Regions from separate parts of the Homo sapiens genome. Here regions 1, 2 and 4 are each linked to region 3. Evidence: promoter capture Hi-C in 16 types of primary human blood cells and fetal thymus (Javierre and others, 2016). All regions are on one chromosome and are shown on one strand. The core of a region is centred on a gene start or on the middle of the fragment in contact, and the rest is flanking DNA. Distances in the headings are between cores, read along the strand shown.

What was found. Contacts are between HindIII fragments. The CHiCAGO score rates a contact against its expected background, and 5 or more counts as called.
Region 1: a contact is called between a fragment that was not itself captured here and the fragment with the promoter of RASAL2-AS1 in region 3, in 4 of 17 cell types (M2 macrophages, M0 macrophages, M1 macrophages and 1 more). The highest score is 10.8, in M2 macrophages.
Region 2: a contact is called between a fragment that was not itself captured here and the fragment with the promoter of RASAL2-AS1 in region 3, in 4 of 17 cell types (M2 macrophages, M0 macrophages, M1 macrophages and 1 more). The highest score is 8.5, in M2 macrophages.
Region 4: a contact is called between a fragment that was not itself captured here and the fragment with the promoter of RASAL2-AS1 in region 3, in 4 of 17 cell types (M0 macrophages, M2 macrophages, M1 macrophages and 1 more). The highest score is 5.8, in M0 macrophages.

Annotation. Positions count from the first base shown.
Region 1 is chr1:178,300,842-178,308,056 of GRCh38, forward strand. All of the region lies in intron 3 of RASAL2 (RAS protein activator like 2), which reads left to right. Among named protein-coding and RNA genes, the nearest start is that of CLEC20A, 190 kb to the right of the region's middle. The HindIII fragment of the contact is 8,677 bases long and covers 1-7,215 here.
Region 2 is chr1:178,231,616-178,238,889 of GRCh38, forward strand. All of the region lies in intron 1 of RASAL2 (RAS protein activator like 2), which reads left to right. Among named protein-coding and RNA genes, the nearest start is that of RASAL2, 140 kb to the left of the region's middle. The HindIII fragment of the contact is 4,673 bases long and covers 3,069-7,274 here.
Region 3 is chr1:178,092,103-178,099,514 of GRCh38, forward strand. It overlaps RASAL2-AS1 (RASAL2 antisense RNA 1), which reads right to left and starts at 1,891. Exons shown (of 2, transcript NR_027982.1): 1 at 1,459-1,891; 2 at 1-1,310. It overlaps RASAL2 (RAS protein activator like 2), which reads left to right and starts at 2,002. Exons shown (of 18, transcript NM_170692.4): 1 at 2,002-2,592. The coding sequence starts at 2,391. RefSeq lists an enhancer at 1,478-1,979 and silencers at 1,601-1,650, 1,701-2,000, 2,071-2,230, 2,381-2,440. The HindIII fragment of the contact is 4,675 bases long and covers 393-5,067 here.
Region 4 is chr1:178,317,651-178,325,268 of GRCh38, forward strand. All of the region lies in intron 3 of RASAL2 (RAS protein activator like 2), which reads left to right. LOC105371629 (a long non-coding RNA gene) reads right to left here. Exons shown (of 3, transcript XR_922306.3): 3 at 6,438-6,759. Among named protein-coding and RNA genes, the nearest start is that of CLEC20A, 180 kb to the right of the region's middle. RefSeq lists an enhancer at 2,883-3,478. The HindIII fragment of the contact is 2,916 bases long and covers 4,554-7,469 here.

The DNA.
Region 1 (7,215 bases), core at 2,062-4,561, 210 kb after region 3:
AAAAATGAAGCAATTTGAAAAGTAGGAATTGTTTTGGTGCTTTATATTGTTGTGTTATTATTTGCTTAGTGAACCATAGACTTTTGACATTTGATAAGTAGATGAAATCATTTATTGTCTCTATGGTGATCAGTATGGATAATTCTGTAATTTTGTTTGTGTTTTCTAAAATCATGGTTTGGTTTGGGATTTTGGAGGGGGTTGCCTTTTTCTTCATTTCTAAGTGGAACCCAGAGCTTTTGGCTGGAATTTGAATCCTTTTGGGCAGAATTTGAATCTTTTATTTTTCTTTTTATTGTGTAATAGTTGTTGCTTTCCTAGAAATTAGTTGAGTTAGCAAGTACTTTTTTCCAAGGAGCCACCTTGGAGAAGTCAGATTTTTCTCTCATCTTATTTCCACTATACTTCTTTAACATGTGTTGAAACCAGTTTAGGTGTGGGCCTAAATTCTACTAAAAACCTGTCTGGGTGTAACCATTTTATAGCCTATTTATATTTCACATCCAAGTTCTATGTAAATTGAACTGGCTTAGAGTCACCTTCTTTCAGTTCCTTTGCTTTCATTATTTGCAATGATATGTTGACTGTTGTCTCTCTTTTTTTTTTTCTGAGACAGAGACTTGCTGTGTTGCCCAGGCTGGAGTGCAATGGCGTGATCTTGGCTCACTGCAGCCTCCACCTACTTGGTTCAAGCAATTCTCCTGCCTCAGCCTCCCAAGTAGCTGGGATTACAGGCATGCACCACCATGCCCGGCTAATTTTTGTATTTTTAATAGAGACAGGGTTTCACCATGTTGGCCAGGCTGGTCTCAAACTCCCGACCACTGATGATCTGCCCTCCTCAGCCTCCCAAAGTGCTAGGAATAAAGCATGAACCACTGCGCCCAGCCTGACTATTGTCTTTACCAATTTTCTAGGAACCTTTCGCTCTTCAAGTTTTGACCCATAAAAGTCAATAGATTTTGAGGAAGTACAACTATAGTCTCAAGAATTATTGCAGTGTTATAGAAGAGAGAACTATATAGGAAATTGTTAAATATCTACAGTGTTCGAGGTACTGGCCCCAAAAACAAACTAAAGGTGACAAAAGTGTCTGGTCTAGAGCCAGTCCTTATCTTTTGTGCTTAACAAGAAGTCCAGTAGCCATTCTGACTCATGGACAGTCCATGAGCAAATGTCCTAAATTTGCACTAAAAGCTATCCTCGTAAATATTATAGGGAAAAACACTACTTCTAGAGCCATTCTTCCTTACATGCCAGTCTAATCTTGAATTAGATAATTGTTCTGTTTTTTTATTGTTATCTCCAAGTGATTTGTCTTTAGCCAAAATTTCTGCTGTCAGGTATTTCATTGAATAATTGCTGTATATGTAACATTCTATGCCAGTCGCTAAGAGTGAAAAGAAGTATAAGATTTCTGCTCTTAGAACATTTTTTTTATGTAGTTAGCAAGATAGGATGAATATACATAGAAACTAAAATATAAGTTAGTGTACAAAAATTGATTGTCTATATACTAGCAATAAACAGGAAACAAAAAAAATTAAATATCCTGTTTAATATAGCATCATGATAACAAATTCCTAGGGGAAAAGATCTAATAACAGATGTGAAAGACTTCTACATAGAGAACTTTAAAACATAAAAGAAAAAAAGATTTAAATAAACAAATGGAGGGCTAAATACCATGATGATGGTTTAGAAGACTTAATACAATGTCAGTTCTCTTTAAGATCAAAATTTCAATGAATTTCAAAATTTCTGTCCCCATCCTTACCACCACATACACGTATACAAATTGGCAAGTTGATTCTAAAATTCATCTCGAAATGCCATAGACCAAGTATAGCCACAGCAGAAGAAAACAAGGTGAGAAGACTTAATTACTAGTATTAAGATCTGTTTAAAAAGTATAATAGGCCGGGCGCAGTGGTTCACGCCTATAATCCCAGCACTTTGGGAGGCCAAGGTGGGAAGATCACGAGGTCAGGAGTTCAAGACCAGCCTGGTCAATATGGTGAAACCCTGTCTCGAGTGTGGTGGCATGTGCCTGTAGTCCCAGTTACTCAGGAGGCTGAGGCAGGAGAATCGCTTGAACCCAGGAGGTGGAGGTTGCAGTGAGCCAAGATTGAGCCACTGCACTCCAGCCTGGGAGACAGAGCGACACTCCATCTCAAAAAAAAACAAAGTATAATAGTGTGTTGGTGGAAGAATAAACAAATAGAATAGTGAAATAGAATAGAGAGTCTTGAAGTTATCCCATATATAAGGACATTTGGTGTGACATTTCCCTCACGGCAGTGAGAGAAAAGACAGTCTTTTTAGTCATTGGTGCTGGCTCAATAACATATCTTTTTGGAGTGGGGTGGGAATGAGGAGGAATTGACCTATAAGATAGTGACCTTATAACCATGCACAATATCAATTCCAAGATCTGAACAAGAGAGATAATACAATAAAACTTCTAGAAATAGTGTAGGATATTTTCATGATCTTGGATAAAGAAAGATTTCTTAAGTCAGGAGTGTCCAATCTTTTCGCTTTCCTGGGCCACATCAGAAGAAGAATTGTCTTGGACCACACCCAAAATGCACTAACACTAACGACAGCTGATGAGCTTAAAAAAAAAAAAGGTTCATGCAAAAATCTCATAATGTTTTAAGAAAGTTTAAGAATTTGTGTTGGGCTGCATTCAGAACCATCCTGGGCTGCATGCAGCCCATGGACCGTGGGTTGGACAAGTTTGTCTTAAACAATACAAAAAACACAAATTGTAATGGAAATAATTGATACATTGGACTATATTAAGATTAAGAATTCTGTCAATCAGTACATCATTAAGAGAATGAAAAGGCAAACCACAGAGTAGAATAATATATTTGCAACACCTATAATGAACAAAGGGCTTTTATCTAGTATATATAAATGCTTCCTCGTAGAAAATGAGCAAGAGGCTTGAACAGATATTTTAACGAAGAGTTCACTGAGGAACAGACACAAATTAGTACATCCTGTCTGATTCCGTTTATATCAAGTTCCAAAACCGTTAAAACTAATCTATGGTGTTAGTTATTAGGATGGTGGTTACTTTTGGGGAGGAGGCATGAATAGTGATTGGGAGAAATATAAAGGTGGATTCTGGAGTGCCAGTGGTGTTCTGTTTGTTGACTTGGGTAGGAATTACACAGGTGTGTTCACTTTGTGATAATTCATTGAGCATATGTGTGTTATACTTAAAGAAAATTTTAAAAAGACAAAGAAAAACAAGCTAAATTGTACTGTCACATAAGTGGTCTATACTATTACAAAGTACACAGTAGGGAGGATTAAGAACTATATAGCCAACTCTGTTTTATGCTACCAAAAGGGCCACTAGGATGAGGACTAACGAAAATCATTAGGCCAGGTGTGATGGCTCACACCTATAATCCCAGCACTTTGGGAGGCTGAAGCTGGAGGGTCACTTATGTCTAGGAGTATGAGACCAGCCTAGACAACATAGTGAGACCCTTATCTCTACAAAATAAAAAAATTAGCCAGGCATGGTGGCACACATCTGTAGTCTCAGCTACTCTGAAGGCTAAAGTGGGAGGATCTCTTGAGCCTGGGAGGTTGAGGCTACCGTGAGCTGAGATCACACCACTGCACTCTAGCTTAGGCGACAGAGTGAGACCTTGTCTCAAAAACAAAACAAAACAAAAACCACACATTAGATTAAGTGACATTAGGGTTCTTGGTAAGTTTAGGAACTGTAGTTTTAATGGTATGTGGCAGCAGAAGCCCTACTGAAATGAGTTGAGAAGATAGTGTGATAAGGAAATCAAAACAGCAAATGGAGACAATTCTTCTTAAACGTTTGCCTGTGGAAAAACTGAAAGCGTTTCCTCTTAGATCTGGAACACAACAAGGTTGTGCACTTTTACCACTCTTATTTGTTATAGTACTGGAAGTCCTAGCTAGAGCAGTCAGACAAGAGAAGGAAATAAAGGGCATCCAAATTAGAAAGGAAGAAGCCAACTTATTCTTGTTTGCAGATGATACGATCTTATATTTGGAGAAACCTAAAGACTCCACTAAAAAACTGTTAGGACTGATAAACAAATTCAGTAAAGTTACAGGATACCAAATCAGCATACAAAAATCAGTGGCATTTCTGTATGTTAACAGTGAACAATCTGAAAAAAAGAAATTTAAAAAGTAATCCCATTTACAAGAGCCACAAGTAAAATGAAGTACCTAGGAATTAACCAAAGAAGTGAGTATCGCTACAATGAAAACTATAAAATACTGATGAAAGAAATTGAAGAGGATGGCAACAAATGGAAAGATATTTCATGTTCATGGGTTGGAAGAATCAATATTGTTATAATGTCCATACTGCACAAAGCAGTCGACAAATCCAGTGCAATTCCTATCAAAATACCAATGACATTCTTCACAGAAATAGAAAAAACAATACTAAAATTTATATGGAATCACAAAAGACCCTGAATAGCCAAAGTCATTCTGAGCAAAAGGAACAAAACTAGAGGAATCACATTACCTGAGTTCAAATTACAGTACAGAGGTATAGTAACCAAAATAGCACGGCACAGGCAGAAAAACAGACACACAGACCAGTGGAACAGAGAATCCAGAAACAAATCCACACACCTACAGTGAACTCAGAATTTGCTTAATGGATTGGATGTGGAAAGTGAGAAATAGAATATTCAAGAATGTTGGCTAGAACAGCTACAGGAATGAAGTTACTATTGTTTAAAGTGGGAAGACTGGGAGAAACTAGTTTGAAAGTGTGATTGACCAGCAGCTCAATTTTTGCACACGTTAAGTTTGAGGGTATTATTAGACCCCCAAGTCGAAATTTGTTGGATATATGAATTTGGAAATAAAGGGGAAGGTACAGACTACAGATACAAATTGCAAGCCTTTGGCAAATAGATGATATTTAAAACCCTGAGATTTAATGACATTCCTATTAGAATGTATGACAGAAGAAATGCAAAGACTAAGCCCTGGGACAACATTTAGAGGTTAGGAAGATGAAGTAGCACTAGCAAAGGAAGAACTAAAGAGGAAAGATGAAAATCCAGAATTTTGTTTCCAAATAAGCAAATTGAGACAAATGTGTATGGGGAAGAAGAAGGGAGTGCTTAAGCACAGAATTTACTTCTTATTGACAAGAGTTCTCCGACTGTTGCATTCAGCAGTTTACAGTTACCAAGGATACTAAATTTGACATAGATTTTGATTCATCAAATTTTTTTCATTGTTCAATTCCCACCTTTGAGTGAGAATATGCGGTGTTTGGTTTTTTGTTCTTGCGATAGTTTACTGAGAATGATGATTTCCAATTTCATCCATGTCCCTACAAAGGACATGAACTTATCATTTTTTATGGCTGCATAGTATTCCATGGTGTATATGTGCCACATTTTCTTAATCCAGTCTATCATTGTTGGACATTTGGGTTGGTTCCAAGTCTTTGCTATTGTGAATAGTGCCGCAATAAACATATGTATGCATGTGTCTTTATAGCAGCATGATTTATAGTCCTTTGGGTATATACCCAGTAATGGGATGGCTGGGTCAAATGGTAATTCTAGTTCTAGATCCCTGAGGAATAGCCACACTGACTTCCACAATGGTTGAACTAGTTTACAGTCCCACCAATAGTGTAAAAGTGTTCCTATTTCTCCACATCCTCTCCAGCACCTGTTGTTTCCTGACTTTTTAATGATTGCCATTCTAACTGGTGTGAGATGGTATCTCATTGTGGTTTTGATTTGCATTTCTCTGATGGCCAGTGATGATGAGCATTTTTTCATGTGTTTTTTGGCTGCGTAAGTGTCTTCTTTTGAGAAGTGTCTGTTCATGTCCTTCACCCACTTTTTGATGGGGTTGTTTGTTTTCTTCTTGTAAATTTGTTTGAGTTCATTGTAGATTCTGGATATTAGCCCTTTGTCAGATGAACAAATCACATGGACACAGGAAGGGGAACATCACACTCTGGGGACTGTTGTGGGGTGGGGGGAGGGGGGAGGGATAGCATTGGGAGATATACCTAATGCTAGATGATAAGTTAGTGGGTGCAGTGCAGCAGCATGGCACATGTATACATATGTAACTAACCTGCACAATGTGCACATGTACCCTAAAACTTAAAGTATAATAATAAAAGAAAAAAAAAAAGCACGAAAAAGATGTTCTAAATAAATTGCGAAGAAGACAAGTTATATAACAGCATGTGCAGTCTAATCATTATTTCATTTTTTAAAAAAAGGTACAGTATGCACACAGAATAAAGATTGCTTATACACATCAACGTATTATGAGCATTATCTTTATTTTGCTTGTATGTTCTAGATTTTCTTAAGCAATGTGCATTTCTTTCATACTAAAAATATTTTTAAATAAAATATACTAATTACTTTTAAAAAAAAAATTTTTTTCCACTGAAAATGAGATGTTTTCTTAAGGCATGTGTGCATCATGTCTAAAGTACCCACTTCCAGATTTAGAAAACCTAGGAAAAAACTATTTTCCCCTAGTAACAGTATCCAGATTTTAATTTATTCATCAAAAGACTATCTAGATTCAAACCATGCAAAGCATGACTTGCTGAATTTTCAAGAGGAGGTAGTAGGGTTCTTTGTATACAAATAATACTGGAAGGCATATTAGTTGGCCGTGTGAACTAAAATTAGTAAATAGTCATTTTCAATGTCAATGTAACCTACAAATTCAACTTCTTTTAAAAAAACCAAAGCTATCAAATAGCTTGCAAGAACTCTGAGAAGGGGGAAAAGTGAAAGCTGAAGAGTGGACATTTTTATGAACTGTGCATTTATGGAAGAAAATTTATCTCTGTTATTGCATATTGCTTACTGCTTGGCTGGTGGATAGCACAAGGTGAATTTGGAGCTGTCTCCAATCTTTTTGTTGTATTTCTTTGACATTCCGGTAAAGTTCATGTTTTCATGCCCAAATGGGCAAACTACAGTATGAGCCTGAAATGAGCAAGGATAGTTGTTTGCATGTAACATCATAAACATGTTCATAAAGCTGGTTTAATTAGAAAATGCCAAACATTCGTAAATCCGAGGCTTTCTCAGTCCTCAAACAGAAAGTTCAGATTGAACTGGTAAATTCAAATCCAAACATTTACTAACTCAAGGCTGCAGAGATCTCATGCCTCTATTTTAATATATTATA
Region 2 (7,274 bases), core at 4,155-6,654, 140 kb after region 3:
CACAAAAATACTCACTCACAGTTTTTTTTTACAAGCTTTATAATTTTATACTCTACATTTAGGTCTTTTTTTCTCCTCACAGATTATTTTTTGTGAATGATGTGATGTGCCATAAATAGAGATTAGAACTTGATATTTATTGTTCCTTTCCTTGTGCAAATTCACCATTCTAGGTTTTCTTTTAAATAAGGGGAAAATGTACAATTGTAAGATTCTCTAATTTGATATGTTTTTGAGAAAGCCAAATACTTCATTTCTTTAATATACAAATATGTAGATTTAGAGACTATATAAACAAATCAAAATGCAGTTATTGGTTGATGATAATAGTGATAAATAGAACATTGTAATATGTTTAAAGGAATAGGTATGTTGGTTTTCGTTACGATTTCGACCATAATAAGAAAAAGACTTAGTGTGAGACCTGTTTTTCATTGTAAAACATTCTACAAATAAGTGGATAGTTTTTTTAGTTTGCCAGATGAAATCATTTTTAAAACAACTTGCAGAGTGACTTTGATTGCACTGTTATATCTGTTTTATTGGTAGTCTGAAGTCTGTGAGGCTTTCCATTTGAAACCCCTATTTTCAGGGGTTTATGAGCAGGCAGTTGAAAAGAACTTAACCAGCAAAAACTTGGCATTCATGATCTTGGTTCAGTATAAGGTACTTGCTTTAACAAATTTTAAGTAGTCAGCTCTTTTTTAAAGTTGTAAGGAGCACAAAGAGGAATAAAGGAATTTCTTTGGTTAAACAGATAGGGAATATTTTTCCAGCCAACTTATCCCAATTGGATTTATATAGCAAACTTTCTTCTTCCAGAAATTTTTTAAGTATGTACATTCCTATGTTCCAGTTGCCACAAGATCTTGCCTCAAGATTTTCCTTTTCCTTTGCTGTAGTTTATAGCAAATACCCTCTGCCTCTGCTCTTTTTCTTCCTATTTATGCTTTTTAAATTCTTCATAGTGTAATATATTTACACTAAAAATGGTGTTGGCTTTCTTTTGGCTTTTTTCCTCCTCTTACAGTACCAGTTTGAATTTTACCTATTGGTTGAAAAACAATATTAACTTTGAGAGATGTAGTATAAATAGCATTGATTTGCTTGAAATTAAACTTCTGAAATGCAGGCCATCAAAACTCTTCTGAAGAGTTGTCACTCCAAGACTAGGCAAGGTTTTTTTTCTTCTTCTGGAAAGTATCAATATCAGCTTGAGTAATTTGATTTTCTTCACAATCTGTTTTTAACTCGCTATCATTTGCATGGTGAACACTTAACTACTACTGGTCCATAAAGGTGTTGGTGGGTTGTTGTTGTTTTTATTTCACTTAAAAAAATCATTTCCCGAAAGCCTATTACAGAAATGTAACCTACTGCAGGAAGTGAGGTGATCCTTTGGAAATCTTGACTTTGTCTCTACTCTGATGATACTTTGCTTCAGGCAAGAGGTTTTTAGGTGCTGCTGAAGTTTTTGAGATCTTGGAAAATGGCGTAATAACATGACACCAGCTCTTAAGCAGCAACATCTGCTGTGGTTCAAAGCCACACAAAGAAAGCTGCTTAAGCAGTCAAATGTTTTGGACTGCACAGACATGTGTGGTTCAACTGCAAAGACTGCAGAGTAGAGGAATCTTAAAGTTTAGAGAGACTGTTAAAGACTGGAGTCAGGGAAGATGAGCATCTTTAAGAAACAAACATCACCTTGTCCTCCAAGCTATCGAAGATCTTTGTCAGAACCTGCTTATGCAGATTCAGAGATAGGAACAAGTTTAAAGAGTTATCCATGGTGTGGTCCAGTGAAAAGCAAGAGGAAGAAAAATGATTCTGCTGTTTCCAATCTGGGAAAGCCACTGGGTGCTTATCGGTGGCAGAGACATCCGAGTTTTAGGTGGAAAGGGAACAAAAGGGAGAGATTGCAGAGTAATAAAGGAGACCTGGTTGAACGACAACAACAAAAGGTCATCCTGCCAAAGATGGTTAGTAATAATGCTTCTTCCTCTGCTGATGAGGTCCTTGGAACATCAACAGAGAAGCCACACCTGGTCAACAGCCGATCACTTCGAGCACCATTCACCAGATCTGTTTCAGAACCAGAACCCCGCTGCAGTATCCCATTTGTTAGACTGTGGCCAACTTCACTTGGGTCAGTGGAGTCTGAGCAGCAGGGATATTTCATCCGTGGCATTTTCTCTACTCTTTCCAATGGCTTCTCCAGGATGCTGAATCTAAAAGGAGAATCAACCAATGAGCCAGTAAGAGAAGGTATATTGCAATGAATAAGGGGAAAAAAGGGATGGCTCAGATTTAGTTACTGTTGAAATTTTAATTATTTGTTTTATAATCAGGTGAAACATTTCATTTTCTCATTATAAAACAAATATATTTAATTAGCACAATTTTAAAAAAGTGATCATCACTGCTTCAGAAACCTTTTAATGACTTATAGTAATAGCAAGAAGTGAATGGATTTGGTTAATTAAGGAATATTTTTATGTTGTTAATTCTTGAACTCAATTTTGGAGCACATGTGAAAAAATTATTTTTAATGCTCATTTGTCTCCACTGATCTACTTTTCCAGGTTAAGTGCAATTTGGAGGGGAAAATATTCAAGTAATTTGTCATGACTGTTGAGAATTTAAAATGTATTTCTACTGTTATCTCTTCATAAACATTATTTTTAAATTAATGTTATTAGTGAGAAATGTAGAGCAGAATTACACTGATAGCTCTTAAAAAGTTGGGATTTTAATTTGCTTGTATCATAAAATACTCCATTTGAATATGGAAGCCAAGCATGCAAATCTTGAATATTTGTTTAGATGACAAAATAGAAATTTGTGTTTGATTCATTTAAGACAATAGAATTGTCAAATTTTTAAAAATCTTATTTGGGACTTTTTAAAATTTAAAAATTATTTCATATTGATTATAGCATTGTTAAAGCCAAAAAGCCCACAGTGCTTAATTTTTTTAACTGATTGCCTTAAAAATGGTTGACCTTATCTGGTGAACAATTTTGGTTATGACTTGGGGCCTATGTTTTTTAAAAAACCTTAGCACTGGAAGCTTGGTAGTATCTTCATGACCAGCTGAGATCATTTTTTGAGAAGCTCTTACCATTAAGAAAATTTCAGCCTCTCATTATTAGGAGATTGAACGTATCATCAAAGGTTTAAACCCTTTCTAAAACTGTGAGAATTGTTGAAGAATTTTGTTATTGAAATATAATTTAATTTATTTTAAAATAAAGTTGAAGAATGCTAATGAGATCATTTCAGTGAAAACTGAAGTAATTTTCCAAATTAATGTATGCCAAAAATTAAGTATTTTCTATAAACCCTGTCCTCCCTAGATGTTCCTTTGCTCAGTGAATTTTAGTGATACTCTTAAACATATATATTTTCTCCTTACTCTTGGCAAATAGATAATTACCTAGAGGAAAATCTTCCTCCTTGATGTGCCTCTATTAACATTCCATTAAAATTTTTGAAAGACTTGGTTGTTTCAGTTTCTTGGATACTTGTATGTCTGTTTCCTTGCCAGGTGATCATAAGGTGATCAAAGTAAAAGAATGTCAAAGGAAATTAAGAGTTTAAAATCTTACAATCAGTTCCTCTCAATGGTTAGCATGTGTGCATTTGATAAAAGAAGCAATACTTTAAATTTTTGCATTTATAATCATTTTTGGACTTTGATAGTGCACTTTCAGTTTTTAGCAAGTATACCAAGCTATTTTTGACTGTCTACAATGTGTGAGGTGCTGTGAGAAGGTGTCCCTGCATTTTACACATATATGGTCTACTTAAGGAAATATAAAATGTAATAATATGTATATGGAAGCACATACAGAGTTTAAGTTTAAGGTGCTATTTCAAGGAATTTCGATTCCAGTAACGAAAAAACAGTGCATAGTGTCCTACCAGTAACATAACAACATTTATAAAACAGTTACTCCGCTATCTCCTAAGTGCTTCGTGTGCGTGTGTGTGTGTGTGTGTCTGTGTGTGTGTATGGGTATGTATGTGCAAGTGAGGGGGGATTAAGCTCTTAAGACTGAAATGTACTGTTTATTATAAAGACCGGATCAAGTGCCTGTGCAGAGGTCTCCTTTTCTCTTTTGGCAGTAACTTCTTTCTGGCCTAGTGTCTACATCAGTGGTTTTCTAACCTTTTGCAGTTGTGAGCCTTTCTTCATCCCTTATTTCCCACAAGCAAAAGACTACCAAATAACTGACTAGTTTGATTTTCTTATCTAAGAGAAAGTAATTAAAGTTGAATTCACTGAGTTAGCAAATTAAGTGAATTTATAGGCGAGAGCTAGTATCCTAATGAATAAAGTTTCTGAGGCAATTTATTTATTTAAAATCCAAATTATTTGGAAATAATTTTCCAAAAAAGATTATCTAGTTGTTATCCTACTTTCTCCTGCCTACCAGTATTTTTTTAATGCTCATTTTCCAGATACTGGAATTGGAAAGCTATTGATTACCAAACCTTCAGATAACCAGAAGATAGTCTCTTTTGTTCAGATATTAGGTGCAAAGGATCTGACCCAGTGTGGTCATGGTAGCTAATTGTTACATCAGCTATAAAGTTGTTGGTTTTTTAGATTATGCCTAATAATCTTGAGGGCTAAGCTACCCCAACCTATAATAGAATTTATCTCTTCATAAGTATATACTATGATGGTCCTCGTAGAGGTATGATACTGTAATAACCATGTACCTGTCTCTCAGCTTTAGAATTTGCAGTTACACTTGGTTTCCAAAAATCAGAGATTCTGGATTTTAAGAGCTTAGACTAGCCACTAAAAACCTGTAGAATGTCTAATAATCACCCCAAATTTTTACTAGTCAACCAAGTGTTATTTTTTATCCATGTGGCAACTGGGTCATTTCTTTGCTTCTCAAGCCTATAAAGATTAGTAATTCCTTGGTTTTCAGTTGCTCATTGTTTTCCAAGGAAGTCTTAAAAAACAAAGGAAAACAAAAAACAGAAAGGGTTTGCTTTAAGCATTATGATTGGTAGTTTATTTCACTGTTTAAAACTTTAGGGTATAACTTGCACAAAACACTAGGCTTCTCTAGCTTTTACTTATGAGCAAAACTTAATCTGTGATATTTTATATTGGACACTACTTTTTTTTTTTTTTTTTTTTTTTTTGAAACAGAGTCTTGCTCTGTCACCCAGGCTGGAGGCCAGTGGTGCGATCTCGGCTCACTGCAACCTCCGCCTCCCGGGTTCAAGTGGTTCTCCTGCCTCAGCCTCCTGAGTAGCTGGGATTACGGGTGCACAGCACCAAGCCCAGCTAATTTTTGTATTTTTAGTAGAGATGGGGTTTCGCCATGTTGGTCAGGCTGGTCTCGAACTTCTGATCTCAGGTGATCCACCCGCCTCAGCCTCCGAAAATGCTGGAATTACAGGTGTGAGCCAGCGCGCCCAGCCTCCCTGAGTACTTTAAATGCATTTTATCTGGTTTAATCCTCCGAATAATCCTGCGAGGGAGTGTTATTCTCATTTTAAAAGTAAGGAATTAGAGCCTCAGAAAGTTTCAGTTACTTCTCCAAGACTACACAGCTAGTAAGTTGTGGGTCCTAGGTCTCTTATGATTCTGTGCTCCTCCATTTGGGGGCCCACTTTGAACACATGATGTTTGAGAGTTTTTCAGGAACTTGAGAGCATCGCTTCAAGCAGTATTGCGGAATAAAGGGGCAGGAGTTTAGCAGCAGAGGTTAGTTCCCATATGAGGATATACATTTGGAAGCCATCAGCCCATGGACATTGAAGCCACAGGAGTGGGTGAAATCACACAGGCTAGGGATATAGTGGGAGAGTAATGAGAATGTTGAGACTAGCATCCCAGCCTCAACACATCTGGACATCTTATTCCAGTCTAACCAGTGTCTGTTAACAGAGCCAGTGGTTTACGAGTATAGACTTGGAGTTTACCAATGTGGTGGTAACTTTAATATTCTTACTTTTACATATACTTGCATACACACCTTATTTATTTTTGTTTAACAGCTTTTTTGAGATATAACTTACATAACGTATTTCATCTACTTAATACACACAATTCAATTACTTTTTTATTGTGATAGCATGCACATACCAAAAAATTTACCACTTTAACCATTTTTAGGTGTACAGTTCAGTGGCATAAGTAGCTTCACATTGTTGTTCAACCATCACCATCATCCATCTCCAGACTATTTTATCTTCACATACTGAAACTCTGTACCCATTAAACACTAACTCCCCATTCTTGCCTCACCCTAGGCCCTGGTAACCACCATTCTACTTTCTGTCTCTATGAATTCGATTCCCAAGTACCTCATATAAGTGGAATCATAATATTCTTTTGTACAGTTTATTTTTAGTATTTTTACAAAGCTGTACAAGCACACCACAATTTTAGAACATTTTCATTACACCAAATACCTATTAGCAGGCAATTCCTGTTTACCCTTAAAGGTCCCATCCATCAGACCTAGGCAATCAGTAATATACTGTCTCTATAGATTTGCTTATAGATGCTATATAAATGGAATTTTACAATATGTGACATTTTGTGTCTAGCTTCTTTTACTTAGCATAATGGTTTCATGGCTCCTCCATGTTATAGCAGCAGTACTTTCTTTTTATCACTGACTTTCTATTGTATGGATATACTATATTTCATTTATACATTCATCATTTGGTGGACATTTGGGTTGTTTCCACATTTGTGCTATTATTAATTATGCTACTATGAACATTCATGAACAAATTTTTACGTGAACATATGTTTTCATTTCGCCTGGGCATTTACCCTTGTATTTTGCAAACAGTGTATTCTGCCTCCAGAATAATGATTTGGTGTTTTGTGACCTTAAGTCACATTAAATTTTCCATTTGTTATCTGAACATGTAATGGTGCTGCTACTTTATTATTGTTTTATATCCGTGTATTCATTCAGTAAAATATTTCTGTGTGTATGTGTGTATATACACACACACACACACACTTTGATCACCTCAAGTACCTATTAGCAATCACTATATATATATGTAAATAAAATTTTAGTCTTAGTCAAATACCTTCTGTAGTTAGTAATTTCCCACACCTCTGCTCAAAATATAAATATAGTTCAATGTGATCTAGAGTTTTCAACTGGTAGCTTGATTACAATGAACAGTATGATTTGTCTGCATTTCCAGGATGATTGTCATCCTGGAATGATTTATCTGCCTCAGGCAAGTTTTTATTTGGTTTCTCACACTCAAGGCCA
Region 3 (7,412 bases), core at 641-3,140:
TGAAAGAGCAGATGTGGAAATAAATTCTGGAAATGTTTCGCATACCACTTGTAATGCTGTTTTTAAGATAATTGCTTGGGTAAATAAATTCCTTATACATTGACTAGTAAAGAGATACTCAACTTTGTACATTTGATGCCATATTCACTTGCTGTCTAACTTATGTTACCATGGCATTAATTTAGTATAAATAAAAATGCTCTAGGTCTACTCAGTGCTGAGCCTTGAAATCTCAGCACTCAACATCTCTTATCCACTAAAGCACACACTGTTGTTTACACGTGGAAGACTGACTATGCAGCCAGTCTAGTAAGCAAGCAAGCAAGCAAGCAAGCAGGGTCCTAGATATTAAAAATGACCATTCCTGTAAACCATCAAGCCACAAATCAACAAGCTTAATCACAAAAGTTTCTTGAGGGAACAAAGTTGAAGTAATATCCATTGAGTCATTGTGGAACTATCTGTACTTGTGGTTGATTAGCCAGGTAAGCTGGTTTTTCCTCAGTTTCCTCACCTGTTAAACAAGAGGCAGAATGATGTTCTCTCTAAAACACTTCTTGCTTTGAAATACTATTACTCTAAATAAGACTTTGGAGAAACTCACAAAATACATCCTTGTTAACTCTCAATAAGCCCAAACAATATTCCAGGACCCCACAAAACCAGAAAACTAACAGGACCCCTTGTAGACCAGTCTCTTTGTGCAACGTAGGGAGAAAGGGCGGGGGGGACTAAAGAACCTCCCAAAAGGTATTAAAAATAGCAACATGTAATTATGAAAAATCTTGTTCCACATTAGGTAGCCACATTCAAGAAAAACTGTTGGAGATCTACTATGTCCAAGGCACGGTTTAAGTTATTACTGTTCAATTTTGAAATTATTATTGTTAACTTGTCAGTAATTTCTTAAACCTAAACTGGTGAAACTCTCCTTGGGTGGACATAAAAGTAAAGCCATGGCCAAGGAGGGAGACAGTCTACAAATAAACCAAAAATAAAATACAAGTGACATCATTAAAGGAAAAAAGCCAACACACTGCACAAAGATCAAAGACAAAACAGAGAAACATGTTTGGTTAATACTGGGCTTTGAGTATTTCATGTGCCTGAGAGGCCCGTCCGTCCATCCACACCACACTTCTTCACCATGCTGTTGCAAACCAATGACAAGTTCAGCTTCAGCGCGGACAGGGCGCAGGGCGCAGACCCTGTGCATATCCCAGAATCCCGGACCCACTGCCACTCCACTCTGGGAAGGAAGAAGGCGCTCCCCCTTGGGTGACTGTAAGATAAAGCAGCTTCTTCGATCTCTTTGTCCAATAAGAAAGAAACGTTGGCCCATAAAGAAAGAAAGAAACAAATAAATAGGAAAGGTGTGAGAAGGAAGGGAAGCTCCTTTCTTTTCTGTTTAAATTTCCCGCACCCTTTTACCTCCCCGCCTTCTCAAACGGTCTTTACTTTGAGCAGCAGAGACCCGGACCGCTCAATACCCGGCTATCCCTGGGAGGGTACTTGGAAAGTAGGCGGGACAGGCCGGATGAATAATTCGGTGTCCGACTTTTCCTGCCTGCGGCGCAGTCCCTCCCCGGCTTCGTTACTCGAGTGCACACGCGGCCGGGCTCTCGGCCCTCGATTGCTTCAGCCTATCACCCTGGGATGCCGCCTGCCGCTGCCGCCGCCGCCGCCGCCGCCACCGCCACCGCCACCGCCACCGCCACCGCCGTGGCTGCCGGGTTTGTGGGATCCGCCGCGGAGCAGGAGCCAGAGCTGTGGCCGGAGCTGTGGCCTGAGAGTCAGGGGGCGGGCAGGCTCATTCCAGAAGTGGGGGCCGAGGACAGGCGGGCTAGAACCCGGGGCCACCGCCCCCTACCCCTCCTCAGGCTGAGGGAACGGGCACTCGGAGCTTCTGAGGCGGCGGCGGCGGGAGCCGGTCAGAGGGGGCGGCCCCTGGCGGCGACGCCCCCAAGCCCAGCCCTGCCCGGCCCCGCTCCATCCCCAGCCAGAGCCTGGTCTGACCGCGAGAGACGCCGGCGGGGCTGAAGAAGGCGGCTCCGAGGAGGTGGGAGGGCGAGCCTCCCCTCCCGGGTTCTTCTGCGTCCTCTCCCGGGAGGGACCCACACACACCTGAGCCCGGACCCACCCTTGGTCGGGGCCACGCTGGATCCTCCTCCCGGCCTGGGTCCCGCCCGCCGACTGCAGGTGGGCTGCATCGCCCGAGCCTCGGGCAGTGGGCGACGGGGAAGGAGGTGAGAGGTGTCCGCGCCGGCTGCCGCTCGGGTCCCTGCCCTCGCTGCGCGCTCTCCTCCTCCCCTTACCGCAGGCAGGGCGCGGAGCCGCGCGCCAGCCCGCCCCGAAGCCGCCGCCTCGTCCCCCTCCCGCCTCGGGGCACCATGGAGCTCTCTCCGTCGTCCGGAGGAGCCGCGGAGGCGCTGTCCTGGCCGGAGATGTTCCCGGCGCTGGAGTCCGACTCGCCGCTGCCCCCGGAGGACCTGGACGCGGTTGTCCCAGTCAGTGGAGCCGTCGCCGGTGGCATGTTGGATCGGATCCTTCTGGAGTCCGTGTGCCAGCAACAGAGCTGGGTCCGGGTGTACGGTAAGGACCACAGGCCGTCTTAGAGGCTGGTGTTTCCTATTTTTGCTTGGGCTGAAATTCATTCCCTAAGTCACAGGCTCATTCCCAGTCCTCATCCGTGCTAGGTCAGTTTCCCACATCCCTTTTTGTTCTGGGGGTGCATTTCTGACAAGTTTCTTCAGACTATCACTTGGGCAGGGATGTCACTCAGTATGGTCTTTGGACCTCTTCAGACACCTGCAGTAAGTTTAATGCGGGAGTTGGGCTATCCAAGACGTAATTCTTAGGCGATTACTTCAAGGGAACAGCCAGGCAATCAATCTTCAAGAAGGTATGATGGAAAAACTCCATGAAACCAAGTGAATGGATTTTCGTCTCTTTTTATTGTTGAATGAGGCAAGACTGGAAACCAAGATATTATGAAAAAGCAGAGGATAAGCTAATGAATGAAAAAAATGCAAACTATGTATTTGGTGGGAGCAAGACTAATCTATAACCTCTGCCTGAACCTCACTCTCTCTAAAAGCAACCACTTATTCCAACGGGTGTGGATTGTTTCAGATTACACTATTGTTTCTGAATCTCGTTGTAAAGTGACTGGGTTGCCACTCAGCAGGTTAAAAGTGATGAACACACTAAAACTTTCCCTTTCTGCATTCCTGGTAACCACCTCTTTAATTAAAACTGAATGATGAGATTCTATTAGGGTGAGCCTTGTGGCAGCACTAAAACCATGCTGGTTTTGAAAACTCATAGCTTAAGGATTTATAGCCTGGCATTCAGGACTGAGCTGTGGCTTTCCAAAATATTGAAACGGCAAGATGTTTATCGCCTAGCTCACGTGACTGCAGAAGACATTAGTAACGTGGCTGAGTATAAGATGGCAAATTTGAAGCACCTGGGATCAAACACAATGTTAAGATGTTATCCTGCAGTCTTGTGCATCTAAGCCTGTAGTGATCAAGTACCTTATGTTTTTTTCTTTCATCTTTCTGAACAGGGTATATGCTTACTATTCAAGAGTGACCAAGACTTAGGTTTTTTTCTGTGTAGTTCAGTTGATTTGAAGACTTAATGTCCATCGCAAAGATCATAGAACTAGGAGTCCAGAGATCTCAGTTCTTGTCTCAGTTCTACCACTAAATGGCTATGGGATTTGGGGCAGATCGAGTCACATTTTTGGCTTGTGATTCCTCATCTGTAAAGTGAGTGGATTGGATTAAATCATCACTAGTGACCCTTTTAATCATAAAAATCCAGGAATTCTTCTTATAACCAGTTCTTAAGGATTTGTGTACCACTTTGTATTTTGCTGGCTGTTTCTTGATGTTACTCTACGTACCGGAAGATTTAAAGCAAAGGAGTGGGAGACGATGCAAGGTCACCCAGTTTGTTCTCAGCAAATTAGATTAAAAACTTTGGTGCCTGATTTTCCGTCTGCCTGCTAAATCCCACTTAGCTGGTCATTTAGAACAAAGGTTGGTGAGAATCTGAAAGTGCATATGAATTAGAGTATATTGTAGTTACAACGTTTTCCCATTCTATCATCTTTCTCTCCTTACACACTTCTTTGGCATACTGTTTATTTGTGTGATGTTAGAAATAGGGCCATGCTATTCTAAGAATACATGTATATGATAATTCGGTATTTCAGTATCCAAAACAATCTGGGTTCTCTGGACCTAGTGTTAACTATCGTTCTTCATTTGTAAGGACATAAAAGTCTACAAATGTATGTTGTTTTGTAGTCCATTCCTAGGGGTTGATTTGTGAAATATATATTGTATATTTTGTGTGTGTGTGTGTGTGTGTGTAAGAGAGAGAGAGAGTGAGAGCAAGTTTACATTATGTTTTTTTTCTTTCGTCCTTCTGAACAGGATATATGTTTATTGTTCAAGAGTGACCACGACTTAGAAGTTTTCTTTCTGCGTGGTTCAATTGATGTCAAGACTTCATATCAGACATCACAGAAATGCATGGTATGTATATGTGTGTGACACACACATATACATACCATGCCTTGCATTTTTGTGACCAATTGCAGACTTACCACTGCATTGTAACTTTTTTTGTTTTCTCTATCAATTAACCAGAAGTTGTTTTTATTTATTGTTTAGTATTGCTACTTTCCTTCCTCTGAGGCAGCTCATCCTGGATACTATTTTGTTGTCTTTAGTTTATGTAAATATTTCAGAACTATTGGAATGACTCTTGGCTATGTCCTTAGCTAGTTTTAAGTTGCCTATTGTATGAACAGGGTGTATGTTTGAAAACTTTGAAGTAAAAACTTTGAAATAAAAGTAATAGAATGTAGAAAAACAATTTGGAGAATACAGAATTTTTGTTTTTCTTGTTTCTTGTCTGTGTGTTCAAAACCTTCGTTGTCTTGGATCACCTAGGTTCTTCTCACAATTTAAAGAGACTTTGATGAGTGTAGTCTAACATGTTTCAGGGAAATCTACAAATTGGGAACCTAGTCTAGAGGATACAACTAGAAGCTTAGAGTATTGGTTTCATTCTGGCTTTGCCACAAGTTGGTTGTCTAATTCTGGGCAGGTAGTTTTAACTCATGGCCTCTAGGTTTCAGCATAAAAGTGGAATCTGGAGTAATTGGTATCTGTGGTCCCTTTTAGCTTTAAAGTTGTCTGATTCTGTGGCTTGGCCCATTATTTTACCTGCAGGTTGGCCTATAATCTTTATCCTGGCTCTTGGGGCCAGGCATTAACCAAGCCCTTAACTTAATGCATTTAAATCATGATTGTCAGGGAATTCTGGGGAGCAGTTTTATCAAAAGGTCAGTGAACTGAGTTTTCAAAGAAGATATATTGAAGGCAGATGTTTATTTATTTGGAATGTTTTCACAAGATAGGAAGATGAGTATGGCGATGTTGCTTAGGTCTAGTTCATCCAGTTTTGAGACCTAACCTACATAGCCATGTGGGTTCTAAAGGTAGGATAATAATAAGGAACTTTATTAAGTGCAATTTGCATCTCCTGCAATATACTTCTGTTTGAAATCATGATGGGAACAAACAACAACAGAAGTAACCCCCCAAAGAATATCTTAACAGGAACTTCTAGAAACAATATTTTATTAGTTTGCCTCACAAAATTTGAAGACTAGGCACTGTTTTGAGTTTCTTGTTGACAGGTTTGGCTCCTTGGTTGATAATACATATATATTGTGTACATATGTATATATTGTCATAATACGTATACTCAGGGTTTTGTGTATTGCCATGATTTGGAAAACTTTTCTGGAATATGTTCAGAGCTTTATAATAGGTGGCTCTATATTTAGAACACAAACTAATGCACATTTTTGAGATGTGGCTGAGAGAAAAATATTTGTGCTGTCTGTCCTAATCTTCATTTCCTTGTAGTTGTAAAATGTTTCATTTGTTTTATTCCAGTATTATAAGTTGTGCCCATGCCTTGTCAAGACTATAAAATTTTTGATATCAGGGAGCCTTGTTTATCTTTGTATTCTTATCTTGCCACCCCCTTCATTGTCAACTTGTCTGCCAGATTGGTACCTTGCTCATAGTAAGTCAGTGTCTGTTGTATGTTGATCCGTTTGTCCTTTGACCATCCAGATCTCAACCTGACTGACTGTATGGGTGGTAGAGTAGCTTAAACAAAGGCATGCCACAAACAGCTAAATATGGATACAGAATCCAAGAGCATCAAATGCAGAACATTTTTCAGATATTTATAGCCTCAAAGCAAAGTCAATTGGCTGAAAAAGCTCAGCAGCATAGCGAAAGGAAACGGGAGTGGCAAAGCCAGCCTCACTGTCTGTGCTTTCTGGTAAACAATGAGAACATTAAAATTAAATACTTTACCATGAATGGATGGGGAGTGTAGGACACTCTGGGAGAAATTTAAGATCCCAATCTCTAGGATTGCCTGCGGTGGAGCTCTGCACTCATCAGTATGACAGGTCTGCAAGTATGTGCTCAGATATGCTCTTGGAGAGTTAGAAGGGAAATATAATCAGCACAAGAAAGGGATCAACAAGAAATCTTGTACTTTTAAATTTTAATATTATCAGAAGGAATTAGGTAAAATATTCTGTTAAGAAAATGAATAGCATCAACATTATTACCATTAAGCTTGTATACAGCTCATTGTTTATTGATAACAACATAGGGACCTGCTGGAAAATTTCAAAGGGCTAGTACTATTTAAGCAAACAGAAGAAAAAGGGAATTAATCATACTTCATTAAGTACCTTATAATTCCAGAAATGTGGCAGTGGGAATTCGGTAAGAATTAATAGAAGTTCATATTCAAGAAGTGAATATGAGCTGATGAGACAGAAGTCATATCTGGTTGTATTATATGATACTGCTTACGCCTCACCAATTAAGACACAGGATGAGATTTTTAAAAGTTACGTTTCTAGAGGTTATGTCTCTAAATTTATTTAAAATGTTGCAACTAGTATGGCTAGAAGAAAATCAGTGAGTGTGTATAAAATACATCCCCAAACATGTTCATGTTCCTTAAATGTCTTAATTTCCTCAGGTACTGTTAATTGAATCTTTACACCTGAGTAGTCATATTTTAGAAATTTTTGGAATCTTAAGCTTGAGTTCAATACTTAGGATGTGGCATAGGCTTGTTGATGTATTAGTTTCCAATGATTTCCAAATACATTAAAACACATTAAGAATAGACAGTTTTTCATTGAAATCAGAGAGAACTTCTAAGAATGCCTAGGCATGTACTGTTTAAGTGACTTTAAATAGCCCCCTTTTTTCTTCTTTTGAGAGAAAATTTGTATGTCTTATTTAAATTGTGTGCTCTATTAATGTAGGTGATAGTTTCATTTATAA
Region 4 (7,618 bases), core at 4,762-7,261, 230 kb after region 3:
TTTCTTATTGTGTCTATTTGATTCTTCTCTCTTTTTTTCTTTATTAGTCTTGCTAGCGGTCTATCAATTTTGTTGATCCTTTCAAAAAACCAGCTCCTGGATTCATTGATTTTTTGAAGGGTTTTTTGTGTCTCTATTTCCTTCAGTTCTGCTCTGATTTTAGTTATTTCTTGCCCTCTGCTAGCTTTTGAATGTGTTTGCTCTGGCTTTTCTAGTTCTTTTAATTGTGATGTTAGGGTGTCAATTTTGGATCTTTCCTGCTTTCTCTTGTGGGCATTTATTGCTATAAATTTCCCTCTACACACTGCTTTGAATGCGTCCCAGAGATTCTGGTATGTTGTGTCTTTGTTCTCATTGGTTTCAAAGAACATCTTTATTTCTGCCTTCATTTCGTTATGTACCCAGTAGTCATTCAGGAGCAGGTTGTTCAGTTTCCATGTAGTTGAGCGGCTTTGAGTGGGATTCTTAGTCCTGAGTTCTAGTTGGATTGCACTGTGGTCTGAGAGACAGTTTGTTATAATTTCTGTTCTTTTACATTTGCTGAGGAGAGCTTTACTTCCAACTATGTGGTCAATTTTGGAATAGGTGTGGTGTGGTGCTGAAAAAAATGTATATTCTGTTGATTTGGGGTGGAGAGTTCTGTAGATGTCTATTAGGTCCGCTTGGTGCAGAGCTGAGTTCAATTCCTGGGTATCCTTGTTGACTTTCTGTCTCGTTGATCTGTCTAATGTTGACAGTGGGGTGTTAAAGTCTCCCATTATTAATGTGTGGGAGTCTAAATCTCTTTGTAAGTCACTCAGGACTTGCTTTATGAATCTGGGTGCTCCCGTATTGGGTGCATATATATTTAGGATAGTTAGCTCTTCTTGTTGAATTGATCCCTTTACCATTATGTAATGGCCTTCTTTGTCTCTTTTGATCTTTGTTGGTTTAAAGTCTGTTTTATCAGAGACTAGGATTGCAACCCCTGTCTTTTTTTGTTTTCCATTTGCTTGGTAGATCTTCCTCCATCCTTTTATTTTGAGCCTATGTGTGTCTCTGCACGTGAGATGGGTTTCCTGAATACAGCACACTGATGGATCTTGACTCTTTATCCAATTTGCCAGTCTGTGTCTTTTAATTGGAGCATTTAGTCCATTTATATTTAAAGTTAATATTGTTATGTGTGAATTTGATCCTGTCATTATGATGTTAGCTGGTGATTTTGCTCGTTAGTTGATGCAGTTTCTGCCTAGTCTCGATGGTCTTTACATTTTGGCATGATTTTGCAGCGGCTGGTACCGGTTGTTCCTTTCCATGTTTAGCACTTCCTTCAGGAGCTCTTTTAGGGCAGACCTGGTGGTGACAAAATCAGTCAGCATTTGCTTGTCTGTAAAGTATTTTGTTTCTCCTTCACTTATGAAGCTTAGTTTGGCTGGATATGAAATTCTGGGTTGAAAATTCTTTTCTTTAAGAATGTTGAATATTGGCCCCCACACTCTTCTGGCTTGTAGGATTTCTGCCGAGAGATCCGCTGTTAGTCTGATGGGCTTCCCTTTGAGGGTAACCCAACCTTTTTCTCTGGCTGCCCTTAACATTTTTTCCTTCATTTCAACTTTGGTGAATCTGACAATTATGTGTCTTGGAGTTGCTCTTCTCGAGGAGTATCTTTATGGCGTTCTCTGTATTTCCTGAATCTGAACGTTGGCCTGCCTTGCTAGATTGGGGAAGTTCTCCTGGATAATATCCTGCAGTGTGTTTTCCAACTTGGTTCCATTCTCCCCATCACTTTCAGGTACACCAATCAGACGTAGATTTGGTCTTTTCACATAGTCCCATATTTCTTGGAGGCTTTGCTCATTTCTTTTTATTCTTTTTTCTCTAAACTTCCCTTCTCTCTTCATTTCATTCATTTCATCTTCCATTGCTGATACCCTTTCTTCCAGTTGATCGTATCGGCTCCTGAGGCTTCTGCATTCTTCACGTAGTTCTCGAGCCTTGGTTTTCAGCTCCATCAGCTCCTTTAATCACTTCTCTGTATTAGTTATTCTAGTTATACATTCTTCTAAATTTTTTTCAAAGTTTTCAACTTCTTTGCCTTTGGATTGAATGTCCTCCCGTAGCTCAGAGTAATTTGATCGTCTGAAGCCTTCTTCTCTCAGCTCGTCAAAGTCATTCTCCATCCAGCTTTGTTCTGTTGCTGATGAGGAACTGCGTTCCTTTGGAGGAGGAGAGACGCTCTGCGTTTTAGAGTTTCCAGTTTTTCTGTTCCGTTTTTTCTCCATCTTTGTGGTTTTATCTACTTTTGGTCTTTGATGATGGTGATGTACAGATGGGTTTTCGGTGTGGATGTCCTTTCTGTTTGTTAGTTTTCCTTCTAACAGACAGGACCCTCAGCTGCAGGTCTGTTGGAATACCCTGCCATGTGAGGTGTCAGTGTGCCCCTGCTGGGGGGTGCCTCCCAGTTAGGCTGCTCGGGGGTCAGGGGTCAGGGACCCACTTGAGGAGGCAGTCTGCCGGTTCTCAGATCTCCAGCTGCGTGCTGGGAGAACCACTGCTCTCTTCAAAGCTGTCAGACAGGGACATTTAAGTCTGCAGAGGTTACTGCTGTCTTTTTGTTTGTCTGTGCCCTGCCCCCAGAGGTGGAGCCTACAGGGGCAGGCAGGCCTCCTTGAGCTGTGGTGGGCTCCACCCAGTTCGAGCTTCCCGGCTGCTTTGTTTGCCTAAGCAAGCCTGGGCAATGGTGGGCACCCTCCCCCAGCCTCGCTGCCGCCTTGCAGTTTGATCTCAGACTGCTGTGCTAGCAATCAGCGAGACTCCGTGGGCGTAGGACCCTCCGAGCCAGGTGTGGGATATAGTCTCGTGGTGCGCCGTTTTTTAAGCCGGTCTGAAAAGCGCAATATTTGGGTGGGAGTGACCTGATTTTCCAGGTGCGTCCGTCACCCCTTTCTTTGACTGGGAGAGGGAACTCCCTGACCCCTTGCGCTTCCCAGGTGAGGCAATGCCTCGCCCTGCTTTGGCTCGCACACGGTGCGCGCACCCACTGACCTGCGCCCACTGTCTGGCACTCCCTAGTGAGATGAACCCGGTACCTCAGATGGAAATGCAGAAATCACCCGTCTTCTGCCTCGCTCACGCTGGGAGCTGTAGACCGGAGCTGTTCCTATTCGGCCATCTTGGCTCCTCCCCTCACTTTATTATTATGACTATTTAATTCGTAAAATTTACTCAATTTAGAAACTAAGTTAAAACCAAAATGGCACACTTGAGTTATTCCCAGTTAAGCTCTCATTCACTGAGTCAGTTAACATCCTCTTCGGTAACAAGCACATTCTAAGTTTTCAGTATATCAGCTGGTTTTTAGCAGATTGTGAAAGTTTTGACACGTTAGTGGCTATCTCCATTCTTCACCAACCTTTTCTAAAAAGTACTTTATCTGTGCACAATAATTTTTTATTTATTTATTTTTTTGAGGCGGAGTCTCATCTCTGTCACCCAGGCTGGAGTGCAGTGGCTTGATCTTGGCTCACTGCAACCTCCACCTCCCGGGTTCCATCGATTCTCCTGTCCCAGCCTCCCAAGTAGCTGAGATTACAGGAATTTGCCACCATGCATGGCTAATTTTTGTATTTTTAGTAGAGACAGGGTTTCACCCCATGTTGGCCAGGCTAGTCTCGAACTCCTGACCTAAGGTGATCCACCCACCTCGGCCTCCCAAAGTGCTGCAATTACAGGCGTGAGCCACCGCGCCCCGCCTCAATAATTTTTTAATAATTTTTTCAATACCCTGAAATCTGGCTTTATTTGCCACTGAAATTACCCCCAACTATCAGAGATTTGATAATAAGTTTCATAACTTCATTATTTTTTTCTTTTTTGTTTTTCTATTTTTTTTAGCTGGTGTCTCGCTTTGTGGCTAGGCTAGAGTGCAGTGGCGCATGGCATGATCATAGCTCACTGCAGCCTTGACCTCCTAGGCTCAAGTGATCCTCCCCTGCCTCAGCCTCCCTAGTAGCTGGGACTACAGGCATGTGCCACCAGAACCAGATAATTTTTTTATTTAAAAAAATTTTTGTAGGTCGGGTGCAGTGGCTCACATCTGTAATCCCAGCACTTTGGGAGGCCAAGGCGGGTGGATCACCTGAGGTCAGGAGTTTGAGACCAGCCTGACCAACATGGTGAAACCCCGTCTCTACTAAAAATACAAAATTAGCTGGGTGAGGTGGTGCATGTCTGTAATCCCAACTACTCGGGAGGCTGAGGCAGGAGAATTGCTTGAACCCAGAAGGTGGAGGTTTTGGTGAGCCGAGATCGCGCCATTGCACTCCAGCCTGGGCAACAAGAGCGAAACTCCATCTCAAAAAAAAAAAAAAATTTTTTTTTGGTAGAGATGGGGTCTCACCGTGTTGCCCAGGCTGGTCTCAAACTCCTCACCTCAAGTGATACTCCCACCTCGGCCTCCCAAAGTGCTGGGAATACAGGTACAAGCCACTGCATCTGGCCAAGTTTCATAACTTTAGTCCTCATCACCTTCTAACTCTCTTCGTGGTTTTTAATGATCGACTTCCCTTTAAAGCTTCTCTTTCTTGACTTCTGTGACATTTTTTCCTCTATTGCTTATGTCCTGCCTCACCGTACTTTTTAAAATATTTCCCACTTTTTAAATGCAGATGTCTAAAGGTCTTATCCTTACCCTTTTTCTTTTGCTTTGTCCTTTCTCAGTAGTTGACTTCACCTATATTCATGTTTCCAAATGTCATCCCTGGGCCAGTACCTTTTAAATCTCTATTTTTGGCTTCCTCGTCTCTTCTCAGTTCCAGACCTGAATTCCCAACTGGTCGTCTGTACTAGAATGTTCAAAACTGAAGCCATTATCTTTGATTAGTTTCCCTTCTTTGTTCCTTCCCTCCCCAACAACCTGTTCTCATGTGGTGGTTGGTTCTGTTAATATGACCACCATCCTTCTAGTCATTCTAACTTTACATTACTCTTTTATTTCTACCTAAATATCTGAATAGCTACTCATATATCTTTTCCTGTTTCCATTTTTATCCTTCTGTATTAACTCATTTCACTGCTCTTTTGTCATCTTAGAGCACTAATTGAATCATACTACTTTCCTTGTTTAAACACTTTTACTGTATCTCCACTGATCTATAAGATGAGGTTCAAATTTACAGTGACACTAAACGTCCTATATATTCTGACTGAGAGTTAGCTCTTTAAGATCATCTTTTTTCTTTTTACCCACCACAGGTATGTATTCTGGGTTCTGGCCACATAGGACTGCTTCAGATTCCCTAGGCATTCTCAATACACATGGGCTTTTGTTCACATAGGGCATAAACCTGGAATATCTTGCTCTGTTTTTCCACCTTCATTTCTACCTTCTGTATGTAGAAATCCCATTTATCCTAAGGGACCAATAAGATATTAACTCTTGGCAATCTTTTTCTTCATTCACTAATCAGAATTCATTAGCATTTTTGTTTGTGATAAACAGTACTTTTTGTACTTCTGATATTTGGATGTATGTTCTTATGTTTTCAGTAAGTTGTTGGTATGTGTCATCTTTACTAGATTGGAACCTCTTAGATGGCAAGATTGTATCTTACTCACCTTGGTATCACCATAGCAGGTTGTTTTGTACATAACTGCAGGCTGAGTGAGTGACTGATTGTTGAGCAAATGACTGATATGAGACATACTAGAGAAACTCTTTCTTGACTTTCAGGTGGAGCATGTCAAAGTGAAAAATAATCTTAGATGTGGGTAATTTTTTTTTATCCTGAAGGGAAAACCATACCCACTTGAGAGAAAATCGTTTAGTAATGAAATTAGAGAATTACTAAATATCATTGCACAGCCACAGGACTATAAGCAGTATAATCACAACTATTGGTTTTGATAAATACAAAGTTGGTAAATGCCATTGTCCAAGTTAACAAGTCACAGTATCAAGTGTACTTGGTTGTGAATGTCAGGTCTGAACTCCGTGCTGTTGGTTAATATCATAACCATAGTTGTGTTAGTGAGCAAGATATTTGTGTTTATTTTTAAGATTTTATTAATAGTAAATCACTTTTATTAATTTCTTATATTTATAGAGAATGATAAGAGAAAATGAAGTATCTTAATGAAAGGAAATGACCATTTTATCCTTTTTGCTGCATTTCACAAAATGAATATTAGGTTATTTATAACAAAAACATGTATTAGGTTGTTAAGAGATTAATTAGTATATAAAAACCACACAAGAAGATTTAGCAGTTATTTCACAGATAGAGGGTTTACTTTTTCAGGAAAGAAAATGCATACCCGTAACTAGAACACATTCTGTCTGGAAGGATACCTTTACCAGTGACTGTGCTGGGTAGTGGAAAATGGCACCAGCTTTGAAGTTGTCTTAACCTGGATTCAAATTCCATATGCTCTCATCATTAACTCTGAACCTCAGCTTCCTTGTTGGATGAGATTTTTATTATGATTCAAAAGAAGAATGCAGGAGCAATAACATAAACTTTGATTTGAGCCAAACTTCAGTTCGCTCTGACTCATAAAATCATGGAACCAGTGAGATAATAGACTAGGTGTTATGTTTCTCATCTTGCTTGGACAGGTTTAAGCTATTAAAGAAATTTGAAGCTGGTCATAGTAGCTCACTTCTGTAATCCCAACTACTTGGGAGGCTAAGGTGGGAGGATTGCTTTGGTCCAGGATTTTGAGGCTGCAGATCACACCACTGCACTCCAGCCTGGGTGACAGAGCAAGACTCGATCTCTAGGAAAAAAAAAAAAAGAAAAGAAATTTGAGGTGTGACATCTTAAAGCATTCTATCTCTGTATCTTGTGACTTTGCCCATTTGTTTTTTTCCATTTTCACTTGCACTTCCTTTCTTCTAAAGTATAGTCATAATTCACCAGTCTGTTATGTAATGAAGGTAGAAAGATGGGAGTGGGCTTGTTTACAATGCATCTTGAAATATATTTGGAGACTTGACCTAGGCCCTTGACTGCCCAGAACCTTTTCTGAAAGGAAAAATAAGTAATTCAGATAAATTGAGCAAAATTAGCTAAATATCGTTTAATTGTACATGTGCATATGGCTCTCTTTTTAGGTAGCCCAAGATTGGCTATGCTGTTTACCAAAGCCTTTTAAGTTTACATTTCAAGCAGAAGGATTTATAAATCAGATTGGTGGAAAATCTAGTTTAATTTTATGTGCGAAACAGACTCTAACTGCCTCAAGGAATGAAGTTTTTGGCTTGTTATGACCCCCTTGGCACCCACCTGCCAACTGGTCTCTCTAGTAACAATGCTTAACCAAGAAAGCTCCCTAGTTTCTCATAAAGCTGTTGTGTTCATTGGATTGTTCTGGTTACTTTTATTTCTGTAAAATTTAAAGCCTATTTTCTTTTCCTGTTGTCTTCAGATATTTGCATGTTAACATGTTTCCTCATTTTGATTGATATTTAATATAGCACAACAGGAAGCTTCCATTCATTTCATTTTTTAAAAAAATTCTCCTTACAACATTCCTATTTTGTCTGTGTTTGACGTGTTCTTTCTAACTCTGAAGAGTAGAGAATAACATAGGAAAAATTCAAGGTAGAAAATAGTGTCTAGAACATGAATTCACA